Linked DNA regions of Homo sapiens: region 2 is linked to region 1. Evidence: promoter capture Hi-C in 16 types of primary human blood cells and fetal thymus (Javierre and others, 2016). All regions are on one chromosome and are shown on one strand. Each heading gives the region's core, a stretch centred on a gene start or on the middle of the fragment in contact. The rest is flanking DNA. Distances are from core to core; before and after follow the strand shown.

Region 1 (5,722 bases), core at 2,316-4,815:
TATCTATGAGCCATTGGGAGACATACTTAAGTTTGCCAATAATATGAGGTTTTATACTGGCATGCACGGAGACTTTAGGTGCACATGCAGTGGTGGTTAAGGCTTTACTTTAAACCCAAGTCACTTGGCACAGTGTCTATACTATTGTTACCTGCTTCAATGGTTGGCAGGTTGCCAGTGTTTTATTTTTAGTGACATGGTCTTGCTCTATCACCCAGGCAGAAATGCTATGGCACAATTATAGCTTACTGCAGCCTCAACCTCCTGGATTAAAGCAATCCTCCCATCTCAGCCTCCCAAGTAGCTAGGACTGCAGGAATTCGCCACCATGCCCACTAATTTTTTTTTTTTTTTGAGAGACGGGGGTCTTACTATGTTGCCCAAGCTGGTCTTGAACTCCCCAGCAATCCTCCCACGTTGGCCTCCCAAAGTGCTGGGATTACAGGCATGAGCCACCATGCCTGGCTGCCAGTATTTTATATACTGCTTCCTGAAACACTTGAATAGCAGTTTCGACCCTGTTAACAGGAGAAGGTGGATTGGAGTGGTGGATTGGAGTGCCTTATAAGAGATCTACTAAAAAGAAAAACATCAATAAAGCAGGCACAGGAAATCTATAAATAGAATAGAACAAGACCAAAGGAGGGATTAAGACATGGATCTACATGCCATATGGATCCACTCATTTCCTACAATGATCTGAAAATTTGGCTTTGAGTTTCCTGCCAGCGAAGGCACAGAGTAACAAGAGCACTTAAGACAATGATTCATGCTATCCAGAAGAAATAGGAATATGTGTTTTTCATGGGGGTGGGGGAGGGAGGGAAATTTCCACATATGAACATTTGGTAAGTAATTAGTTTTGGAGGTCTCTAAGCTACCATTATAACTAACAATTATTACCTTTCTTTATATGGCACTGAATACTTTGCAGAGAAATTTCACATAACTTTCTTTACACAAAAATCCTGCGAGGTAAGATTCCAGGATATTATTAAAGCAATAATGTAACCCTTATTCATGCATCTAAGAACCTAGTCTAACTGGAAAGGCAACACAAAAAGTAGAAAATAAGCAGAAAGATCTCTGAGATAGCAAACCAAATGGCAATAAGTGTATGCACAGAAAAGAGCCTCTCACTCAGAACCTATATTCTCTTATTTAACCTGAAATTCTAACAGGGTTCATTTCCTTCCTAAAACTGCAGTGGATTAAAAGTAACAAAACAGAAACTATTACAGAGAAGCACTCTGAAAGCCTCCTAGATGCGTACACAGGAGAGCAGAGGCAAGAACTAAAAACAATCAAAAGAGCAGTTAGTGCAAAAACAGAAAACCCTAAACACTCACTAAGTAGGATAAGCTCAGACTCTCTCCGCCCTGGATCCTGACCCTCCACGAATCAGTTCCTCACAAACCACCTCAGCCATCTTTCAGGAACGGAAATGTGATCCTGCTTGCCTGCTCCCAACTCTTGGCAACCCTTCATTGACTTTCCAGGCTCATAAGACAAAATCATTATTTAAAAACGGTCCACAAAGTCTGCCTGCCTCTCCAGTCTCATCTCACTTCGGCCCCACCTGCTTGGGCCTTTTCACATTTCCTTCCCTTTACCTGGAAGTGTCTCAATGCTGCCTCTCCTGGGGGATCTGAAATGTCATTTCCTTAGAAAGCCTTACCTAGTCCCAGAGTCCACATTAGGTTTTCCCGTGCACCTTAGCGCCTTTGCAGTTGAGAATTTATCACAGTTGCACTTAGTCTGATTGTTTTATTTGTTTGTTTGTTTTTTGAGACACCAAGGCTGGAGTGCAGTAGCGCGATCTCGGCTCACTGCAACCTCCGCCTCCCGGTTCAAGCATTCTCGTGCCTCAGCTTCCCGAGTAGCTAGGATTACAGGCGTGCACCAACACGCCCGGCTAATTTTTGTGTTTTTAGTAGAGACAGGGTTTCGCCATGTTGACCAGGCTGATCTCAAACTTTTGGCCTAAAGTGATCTGCTGGACTCAGCCTCCCAAAGTGCTGGGATTACAGGCGTGAGCCACCGCGCCTGGCCAGTCTGATAGTTGAATACCTATTTCCTTCAGCGTACTGTGAGCTCTGGTGGAAAAGGACCATGTCTGGCTCGTACATATGCCAAATAAGTATTCACCGGAAAAAATATGAGTAATGTCACAGGACAAGCAGACATCTTCCTAGTATATAATTTTAAATTTTACTAAAATCTTTTTGAGAAGGTAGCTATTGTTTTATTAAAGCAAAAAAAAATTACAAAGTACAATGCAAAATTCATATGAATTTTAAAGCTAAAACAAGACTTTCAGAATGCTTTAGGCTACACCCCCAGACTTCTCTAGAGACGTGCTTAAAATAATATGGAAACACGGTGTGGTAAAAGATCCATTTCCCAAGGGATCTGGATAACCAGCGCTTATCTTCATTTTACTGGAGAATACATGTGCGGAGAGGGCTTTGCAAACTACAAGGCTTTGTGCATTATAACATTATTATGGAAAAATCTGTGTTTCTAAGAGGGGGAATGATTTAGCTATTGCATTGCCAATTACAGGTGGGGCTGGCGCCAGAGCCCAGGCCTCCCGGGGCCTGTCTAGCCCACAGCTTTTCATTAATGCACAGCACTTGCCACCTGGTCCCTGCCGCAAAGGGTGGCCTCTCGAGTTAGGAGCCATATCTAGGGCGGATGGCCTGTGCTAGGCTCAAAGACACTTAAGTTCCGATCAACCAGAACTGAGGAGCGGGTAGGAAAACCAAGCCGAGCCTTCCTCGGCTTCACAATCCGCAGGCTCTCCGCTGTCCCCGGCGGGACTCGGCAGTTCCCCTGGAGGGCTGCAGCCCGGCTGTCTTCGCTCAGGCCCAAGCCCGCGCGGCTCTCCCCCTGGCGGAGAACTCGCAGGACTGCGACGCATTCCGGAGACGCCGTCAATCTCCGAATTTGAAGCGCAGGCGATATCTAAGGGGCCTGGGAAGCGGGAAAGCTCGGGAGTCACTCCGGAGAGAACACCCTGCAGGAGTCGACGCGGCTGCCTGGCTTCGTGGTCCTGCAGCGTGGCCCGTTGCTTCGCGCAGAGGTTGGCCACAGCTGCTGGCTAGGAAACTGGGGACCACCTGGGTTGCCACCGAGGAGGGTGGAGGCCCCCGTCAGTCCCCTCGGGGATGCAGCTGCATTTTCCCCTCCTTGCGTCCGGCCGGGAGCCAGAGGATGGGGCTGTGGAACCCATTCCGAAAGGCAGGGCGGGCCCTTCGGAACCCGGACGCGAGGGAAGGCGAGAGGCGCGGGTGTGCCGCACGCCCACCGGCGCCGGGGCAGGGGCGCTGCAGCCGGCGGCCCACGGAGGACATCAGCGGTGCCGCCGCCGCCGCCGCGGGCTCGCGGGCCGCGCGCGCACGCGAGTGGGCGAGGGAGGCAGGGGCGCTACTAGCAGGCGGCGTGCGCGCGCGCGCTCCCCCGCGCCCTCCCTCGCAGGCCCGCCCGGCCCCAGCGCGCGTCACGAGGGGCCAGCGAGCTAGCTGGAGGGCGGGAGGGAGGGTGGGGAAAGGGGGTGGGGCCGCGAGACCGGAGGGGTCCGAGCAGCGGCTGCGGAGCCGGAGCTGGGCGAGGGCGGCTGCGGTCCCGGCGGCGGCGGCGGCGGCGGCAGCTGCGGCGGGAGAAGATGGTGGCGCTGGAGGCAGCAGCGGCTGGAGCGGAGCTTTATTCCCAGGCTTGGCACCAGCGCTGTCACTAGCGCCGCCTGCTCCCGCGGGCCCGCGGACCCAGCTGTCAGGCAAGGTACCACAGCCAGGGAGGGGTGGGTGAGAAGGGGTGCCCGGCGCTGATGCGGCCCCCGACGGAGCCCGGGTCCTCGCCAAAGGGCGCCCCCGGACGCGAGAGGGGCTGCCTGGAACAATAGTGCGGAGGAGCGGAGGCAGCAGGCGACATCCAGGAGGCAGTGCCTGGAACCATCAGCTAGCGAGGCGGGGGAAGGCGGCGTTGCGAGCGAGACGCCTGGGGTCCGGTGCCCGCTGAGATGCCGGGCTTCGGGCGCAGCAGGCGGGCCTGATGACAGTCATGGCAGGAGTGAGTGTGTGAGAGTGTGTGTGTAAAAGGTACAGCAGAGGGGATGGGGTGGCGGACGGAGGTGTTGGGGGGTGACATTTCCAGGAATCCCCGCTAGGACCCCCTCATCTCTCGGCTGACTCTCCTGGAGAAAGAATGTGATGATGGAAACGGTGAGGTGGGCAGGATGCACTTGGTGTGTGAAGTGTGGAGGGAGGCAGTGGGATAGGGGCCGGTTTGTAAAATCCTGTATATGTGTGTGTACGCGTGTGGTTGCATCCACGTTCCCCAAACTGCGCCCCAAATCCAGAGATCTGCCGCTGCCCTTACTTGATGTCACCGGCTAAGACTGTGGGACAGTGTTTGTTATTTTGACCCTGCAACTCTGAGCACAGTGTCTGTTCTGCTCCTGCGTGTGGATGGCCCAGTGTAGGGATTCTCGCTTCCCCTTCCTCTGGCCTCATGACATGGGGATGTGGAAGTGAGCATGTTGCTTTGAGGCACATGGCAGGGAAATAGGATAACCGTTACACATTCTGGGCTTGCTAATGTACCTGGTTTTGAAGGGGCCTTCCATCCTGTGATACTACTTCTCTCCTTAGCACCTGTTCCATAAGGGTCTTGTACTCCCTGACTGTGCAGTTTCTATTGTTTTTCTCTTGTCTGACCAGAAGGAGAAGGATGTTGAATGATCAGATTCCTCTTCCTGTCCCCACAACTTTCAATGCTAGCTAGACCTTCTCCTTCCACATTTAAGCACTGAAAACCTTATGGCTAGAGGATGGATGGTCTTTGTGTTGGTTCTTTTAGAATGAACTCTGGAGGTGTATACGTATAGAGAGATGCGGTGGGGCGGGGGGCGGTCTTTTAAAAAGAAGAAAAATATCACACGGAGAAATGTTTGGTGCCCACTTGGTCAGCATCACACAGCCAGGGCGTTTTCCTCAGGAAACAGGATACTTTATTTCTACTGCTGGTGACATCCACTCTCCCAGCTGTCACAATAGCTAGGTGGTGCCGTGTATCATTTGGAAACTGAAATCTCCTGAGACCCACAGCGATGGGGTCCCAGGTCAGTAAAGTCCCTGCTTTCCTACCTGATAGAGCCCACTAGTAGGGAATTTGGAAAAATGTCAGGCTGGCAACAACTCACCCAGTGGGAACAAGGACACAGAAATGCATCCAGAGTCTATGGCTGTTTAATTGTCTCTGCGTGGTAAAGATAGGTGTGTGTAGGTAGGGTTGGGTAGAGGTAGGCAGGGAGATGGCATATTCATGTGTATCCAGGGCAGTGTGATTCCCCCTCACCTATGTTTCTCCTGCGGTATTCATAGGAATGAGTGCACTTTACACTTAATATCTCGACACTTCTTTATTAAAATGTTGTATGACTAGCTTAATCTGCTTAGGACATGTTTTAGTCATAACACCTTAAATTCTACTGCATTGTCGGAATCCAAACTGGCTGCCCGGTTCTCTTCGAAAAGCCCGTAGCAGTCATGGCTACACAAGTAAATATACAACATGTTGGCACCAGAGATTTATTTTTCTTTTTTAAAATTTTTGTTTTGCTTTCTTTTATGGGCAAAGATTGCATGATATCGTTGTGAAAATAATAAAACTAGGGCTATCCACATATGCTTTTTTTTCTTCCCATGTATCTTATTTAATG
Region 2 (5,722 bases), core at 1,642-4,141, 210 kb before region 1:
AGTGCTTAAAGGAAGCACTTGACAGCTCGTCTTTAGCATATCTGAATGCCTGCACCACCACTCTTGCACTCTAGAGCCATCATCAAGTATAATAAGGGTTACTTGAACACAAGCACTGCAATACCATGACAATCTAATAATGAAGAAGGCTACTCAGTGACTAACAGCCAGGGACAGTAGACAGTGTGGAGACACTGGACAAAGGGAGGATTCATGTCCTGAACTGGATGAAGCCAGATGACACAAGATTTTGTGGCACTACTCAGAGCCACCTGCAAGTTAAAACTTACAAATTGTTCATTTCTGAAATTTTCTGTTTAATATTTTCGGACTGCAGTTGACCTCATGTAACTGAAACTGTGGAAAACAAAACTATGAATAAGGGGAGACTACTGTACTTCCAATTTAGCACCACCTACTACTCTCCTGTACTAATGATATGTGTGAAAGCCCAGGCTCAAGTCCCTGAGCTCAGGAGCTCTGCATTCCAAGGATTCTCTTTACCACCAACTTCCTGCCTCTATGAACTTTTTGACCCACATTCTTTGCCAGGTGACCGCTGAAGAATAGTGGAGGACAGCCAGATAGACTGAGATTACATAACATTCCCAACCTCCACCCCATTAAACACACAGAAATGCTGGATGAAATACATCCACACTCATCCCCCAAAGTCTACAAGTATAGCCAAGCCCAAAAGGGAAACCCTGAGGTGCTAGAACTGAAGAGGATAGTCATTATAATGGGAAATCATAAACTGATGTGGAATTTGACCCACACATCTAGAGTAAGAGACTTGGCCTTAGATTCACAGGAGGCAGAGAGCTGAACTCCAACTGCAGCCAAGAATCTGTAAAGGTTATACCTCCATATAAAAGAAACCAGAGAAACCTCAGCTATCAATCCAGAGAAACTTGCAAGAAAGTTTCTCTCTGCTTGAGTTCACAGTAGGGGAAAAATTATTCTCTTATGATAAATTAAAACCCCACCTCCATTCCTGGCAATATTATGGGACTGGATGGCCAAAGAAACTCCTCTGAGTATTGCATACTGAAAAACCAGGGTAAAAGGAAATTTTAAGAAGTTTTAACGCATGGCTGAGCTGGTGAGAAAGTAACAGAACCCCAACAAGAATCCCAAAATAACAAGTCCAACTTAGACGGGCTGTTGGATACCTGGGTGGTAACCACCAATTCTTGCCAGGCCCTCAGGTTGTGGTGATTTCCTGAGTAGTAGCAGCAGTACCTGGGAACAGAAATGCGAATACTTGGTTCCCACCACAAAACAACTAAATTAGAAACTCTAGGGGTGGGACCCAGCAATACATATCTCAGCAAGCCCTTCAGGTGATTCTGATGTACACTAGAGTTTGAGTACTAATGATTAAAACAACAAAAATTAGAAATGTAACTTTCAAACCATCAAATGGGTTTTTTTTTAAAGACAAATCTAATAGAAGTCAGGAAAGGAGAATAAAAGGAACAGGGGGACATTATTTCTGCTCATAAAACAAATTAAAATCATAAAAATAAAATTAAATATCTTAGCAATTATAATAAAAATAAAGGGGTTAAGCCTATCCGTGAAAATATTTTCTCAGACTTAAATTGAACATCAAACTGTATTTAAAAAAAAAACCTCCTATTTGTCATGTTCGGTGGCATGTGTCTATAGTCCCAGCTACTCAGGAGGTTGAGGCAGGAGGGTCAATTGAGCCCAGGAGTTCTGAGCTATAGTGCTGTATGCCTATGGGGTGTCCACACTAAGTTCAACATCAGTATGGTGACCTCCCAGGAGCAGGACCACCAGATTGCCTAAGGAGGGGTGAACCAGCCCAGGTCAGAAAGGCAGCAGGTCAAAACTCCTACACTGGCTGGCTCAGTAGCTTGCACCTGTACTCCCAGCTACTCAGGAAGCTGAGGAAAGAGATCTCTTAAAGCCAGGAGTTCGAGGCTGCCATGAGCTATAGCAGCACCAGCACAGGTGACAGAGAGAGATCCTGTCTCTAAAATAAAAACAATTTTTAATGATCAGCTACCTGCTTTTATATCTAAAATAAAATTACTTTCAAAGAAGCTTGAAAGTAAAAATACATAAAAATATATACCAATGCATGGAAATTAAAATATGTACTTCTCAGTGACCAGTGGCTTAATGAAAACATTAAGAAGGAAATTGAAAAATTCCTTAAAACAAATGACAATGAAAACACAACATACCAAAACTTAAAGGATACAGTGAAAGCAGTACTAAGAGGGAAATTTATAGCTATAAGTGCCTACATCAAAAAAGAAGAAACACCTCAAATAAATAACCTAAATAACCTATTGATGCATCTTAAAGAACTAGAAAAGCAAGAGCAAACTGAATCCAAAATTAGTAGAAGAAATGAAATAATAATCAGAGTAGAAATAAATGAATTTGAAATGAAGAAAACAATACAAAAGAATGATTTTTTTTTAATTGTTTTTTTTTAAAAAAATAAACAAAATTGACAAACCTTTAGCCAGACTAAGACAAAAAGAGAGAAGACCCAAATAAATAAAATCAGAGATGAAAAAGGAGACATTACAACTGATAGGGCAGAAATTCAAAGGATCGTTAGTGGCTACTACAGGAAACTATATGCCAATAAATTAGAAAATCTAGAAGAAATGGGCAAAACTCCTAGACACATACAACCTACCAAGACTGAACCATGAGGAAATCCAAAACCTGAACAGGGTAGTTGACAGAGCAGGAGCGTCGCCATCTTGGACAAACACCACCATTTTAAAGTTCACTTTCATCAAAAACTGCCTGAATCCAAAGGGCATCAGCCTAATGGCTAAGGTCAGCATGTTCATAAACCACAAATGACATCTCCAACCAGAAACATTCCAACCTTAAGATAAACCCCTCCCCAACCAGAGAGATGTCAGCCCCAAGATAACCTCCCCTCCAACCAGAGTCATTCCAACCCCACATAAACTTCTCCCCAACACAGAAACATTCCAAGCCTATGATAAGTTCTCTAGCCCTGAACCTTTAAATACTCTTAGTCTGTATGAGAGAATGCTCCTGACGGAAATCGGCCAGAAGCCCCTCTCAGGTTTATTCTCCAAAATAAACCTGTCTTTGACTGTTGAGCCACTTTTTGTGTTTCTTTCCTCTTTCTTTAACTCTTACACCAATAACAAGTAATGAGATCACAGATAAAAAATCTCCCAGTAAAGAAAATCCCAGGACATGAGGGCTTCACTGCTGATTTCTACCAAACATTTAAAGAACTGATACCAATCCTACTCAACTATTCTGAAATATAGAGGCAGAAGGTATACTTCCAAATTCATTCTAAGAGGCCAGTATTACCCTGATTCCAAAACCAGACAAAGACACATCAAAAAAAGAAAACTACAGGCCAGTATCTCTAATGAATATTGATGCACAAATCCTCAATAAAATACTAGCAAACCAAATTCAACAACACGTTAAAAAAATCATTCATCATGACCAAGCAGGATTTATCCCAGAGACACAAGGATGGTTCAACCTGTGCAAATCTATCAGTGTGATACATCATATCAACAGAATGAAGGATAAAAATTATACAGTCATTTCAATTGATGCAGAGAAAGTATTTGATAAAAGTTCAACATCCCTTTATAATACACATCCTCAAAAAATTGAGTATAGAAAGAACATACTTCAACATAATGAAAGCTTTATATGACAGACCCACAGCTAGTGTCATACTGAATGCAGAAAAACTGAAAGCCTTTCCTATAAAATCTGAAATACAACAAGGATGGCCACTTTCACCACTGTTATTCAACATAGTACTGGAAATCTTAGCTAGAGCAATTAGACAAAAAAAAGAAATAAAGGGCATCCAAATTGGAAAGGAAGAAGTCAAATTATCCTTGTTTGCACATGACATGATCTTATATTTAGAAAATCCTAAAGACCACCAAAGAAACTATACTGATAAACAAATTCAGTAAAGTTGCAGGACACAAAATCAACATACAAAAATCAGTGGCAGATCAGGCATGGTGGCTCATGCCCCCAGCATTTTAGGAGGCCAGGTGGGTGGATCACTTGAGGCCAGGAGTTCAAGACCAGCCTGGGCAACATGGTGAAACCCAGCTTCTACAAAAATACAAAAATTAGCCAGGTGTGGTGGCACACACCTCTAATCCCAGCTATTCAGGTGGCTGAGGCAGGAGAATTGCTTGAACTTGGGAGGCAGCGGTTGCAGTGAGACATGATCACACTACTGCATTCCACCCTGGGTGACAGAGCAAGACGGTCTCAAAAAAAAAAAAGGCATTTCTATATGTTAACAGGGAACAATCTGAAAAAGAAATTTAAAAAAAACCTAATCCCATTTACGATAGCCACAAATAAAATTAGATACCTAGGAATTAACCAAAGAAGTGAAAGATCTCTACAATGAAAACTATAAAACATGGATGAGAGAAATTGAAGAGAACACCACAAAATGGAAAAATATTTTATGTTCATGGCTTGGAAAACTCAATATTGTTAAAATGTCCATATTACCCAGAGCAATCTACAGATTCAATGCAACCCCTATCAAAATACCAATGACATCTTTTATGGAAATAGAAGAAACAATCCTAAAATGTATATGGAATAACAAAAGACACAGAATAGCCAAAGCTATCCTGAGCCAAAAGAACAAAACTGCAAGAGTCACATTATTTGACTTCAAATTATGTTACAAAGCTATAGTAACCAAAACAGCATGGTATTAGCATAAAAACAGACACACAGACCAATGGAACAGAATACAGAACCCAGAAACAAATCCACACACCTACAGTGAATTCATTTTTGAGAAAGGTGCCAAGAACAGACACTGGAGAAAAGACAGTCTCTTCAACAAACGGTGCTGGGGAAACTGGATTTCCATATGCAGAAAATGAAACTAGACCCCTATCTCTCACCATATACAGAAATCAAATCAAAATGGATTAAAGACTTTAATCTGTGACCTCAAACTATGAAACTACTACAAGAAAACATTGGGAAAAATCTCCAGGACATTGGTCTGGGCAAAGACTTCTTGAGCAATACTCCACAAGCACAGGCAGCCAAAGCAAAAGTAGACAAATGGGATCACATCAAGTTAAAAATCTTCTGCATGGCAAAGGATACAATCAACAAAGCGAAGGGATAACCCACAGAATTGGAGAAAATATTTACAAACTACCCATCTGACAAGGGATTAGTTACCAGAATATATAAAGAGCTCAAACAACTCTACAGGAAAAAAAAAATCTAATAATCCTATCAAAAAATGGGCCAAAGATTTGAATAGACATTTCTCAAAAGAAGACATACAAGTGGCAAATAGGCATATGAAAAGGTGCTCAACATCATTGATCATTAGAGAAATGCAAACCAAAACTACAATGAGATATCATCTCATGCCGGTTAAAATGGCTTATATCCACAAGACAGGCAATAACAAATGCTGGTGAGGATGTGGAGAAAAGGAAACCCTTATATACTGTTGTAAGAATGTAAATTAGTACAACCACTATGGAGAACAGTTTGGAGGTTCCTCAAAAAGCTAACAATTGAGCTATCATATGATGCAGCAATCCCACTGCTGGGTATATATGCAAAACAAAGGAAATCAGTATATCAAAGAAATACCTGCACTCCCAAGTTTGTTGCAGCACTGTTCACAATAGCCAAGATTTGGAAGTAA

The links. The method cuts DNA at HindIII sites, captures the fragments that hold promoters and counts their contacts. A CHiCAGO score of 5 or more calls a contact.
Region 2: a fragment that was not itself captured here is called in contact with the fragment with the promoter of APBA1 in region 1 in 2 of 17 cell types (M2 macrophages and erythroblasts); the score reaches 5.3 in M2 macrophages.

The regions. Positions count from the first base shown.
Region 1 is chr9:69,670,214-69,675,935 of GRCh38, reverse strand. APBA1 (amyloid beta precursor protein binding family A member 1) reads left to right here and starts at 3,565. Exons shown (of 13, transcript NM_001163.4): 1 at 3,565-3,783. RefSeq lists silencers at 3,488-3,537, 3,718-3,797. The HindIII fragment of the contact is 15,920 bases long and covers 1-5,722 here.
Region 2 is chr9:69,880,576-69,886,297 of GRCh38, reverse strand. All of the region lies in intron 4 of CFAP95 (cilia and flagella associated protein 95), which reads right to left. It also overlaps the pseudogene RN7SL570P. Among named protein-coding and RNA genes, the nearest start is that of CFAP95, 63 kb to the right of the region's middle. The HindIII fragment of the contact is 1,626 bases long and covers 2,079-3,704 here.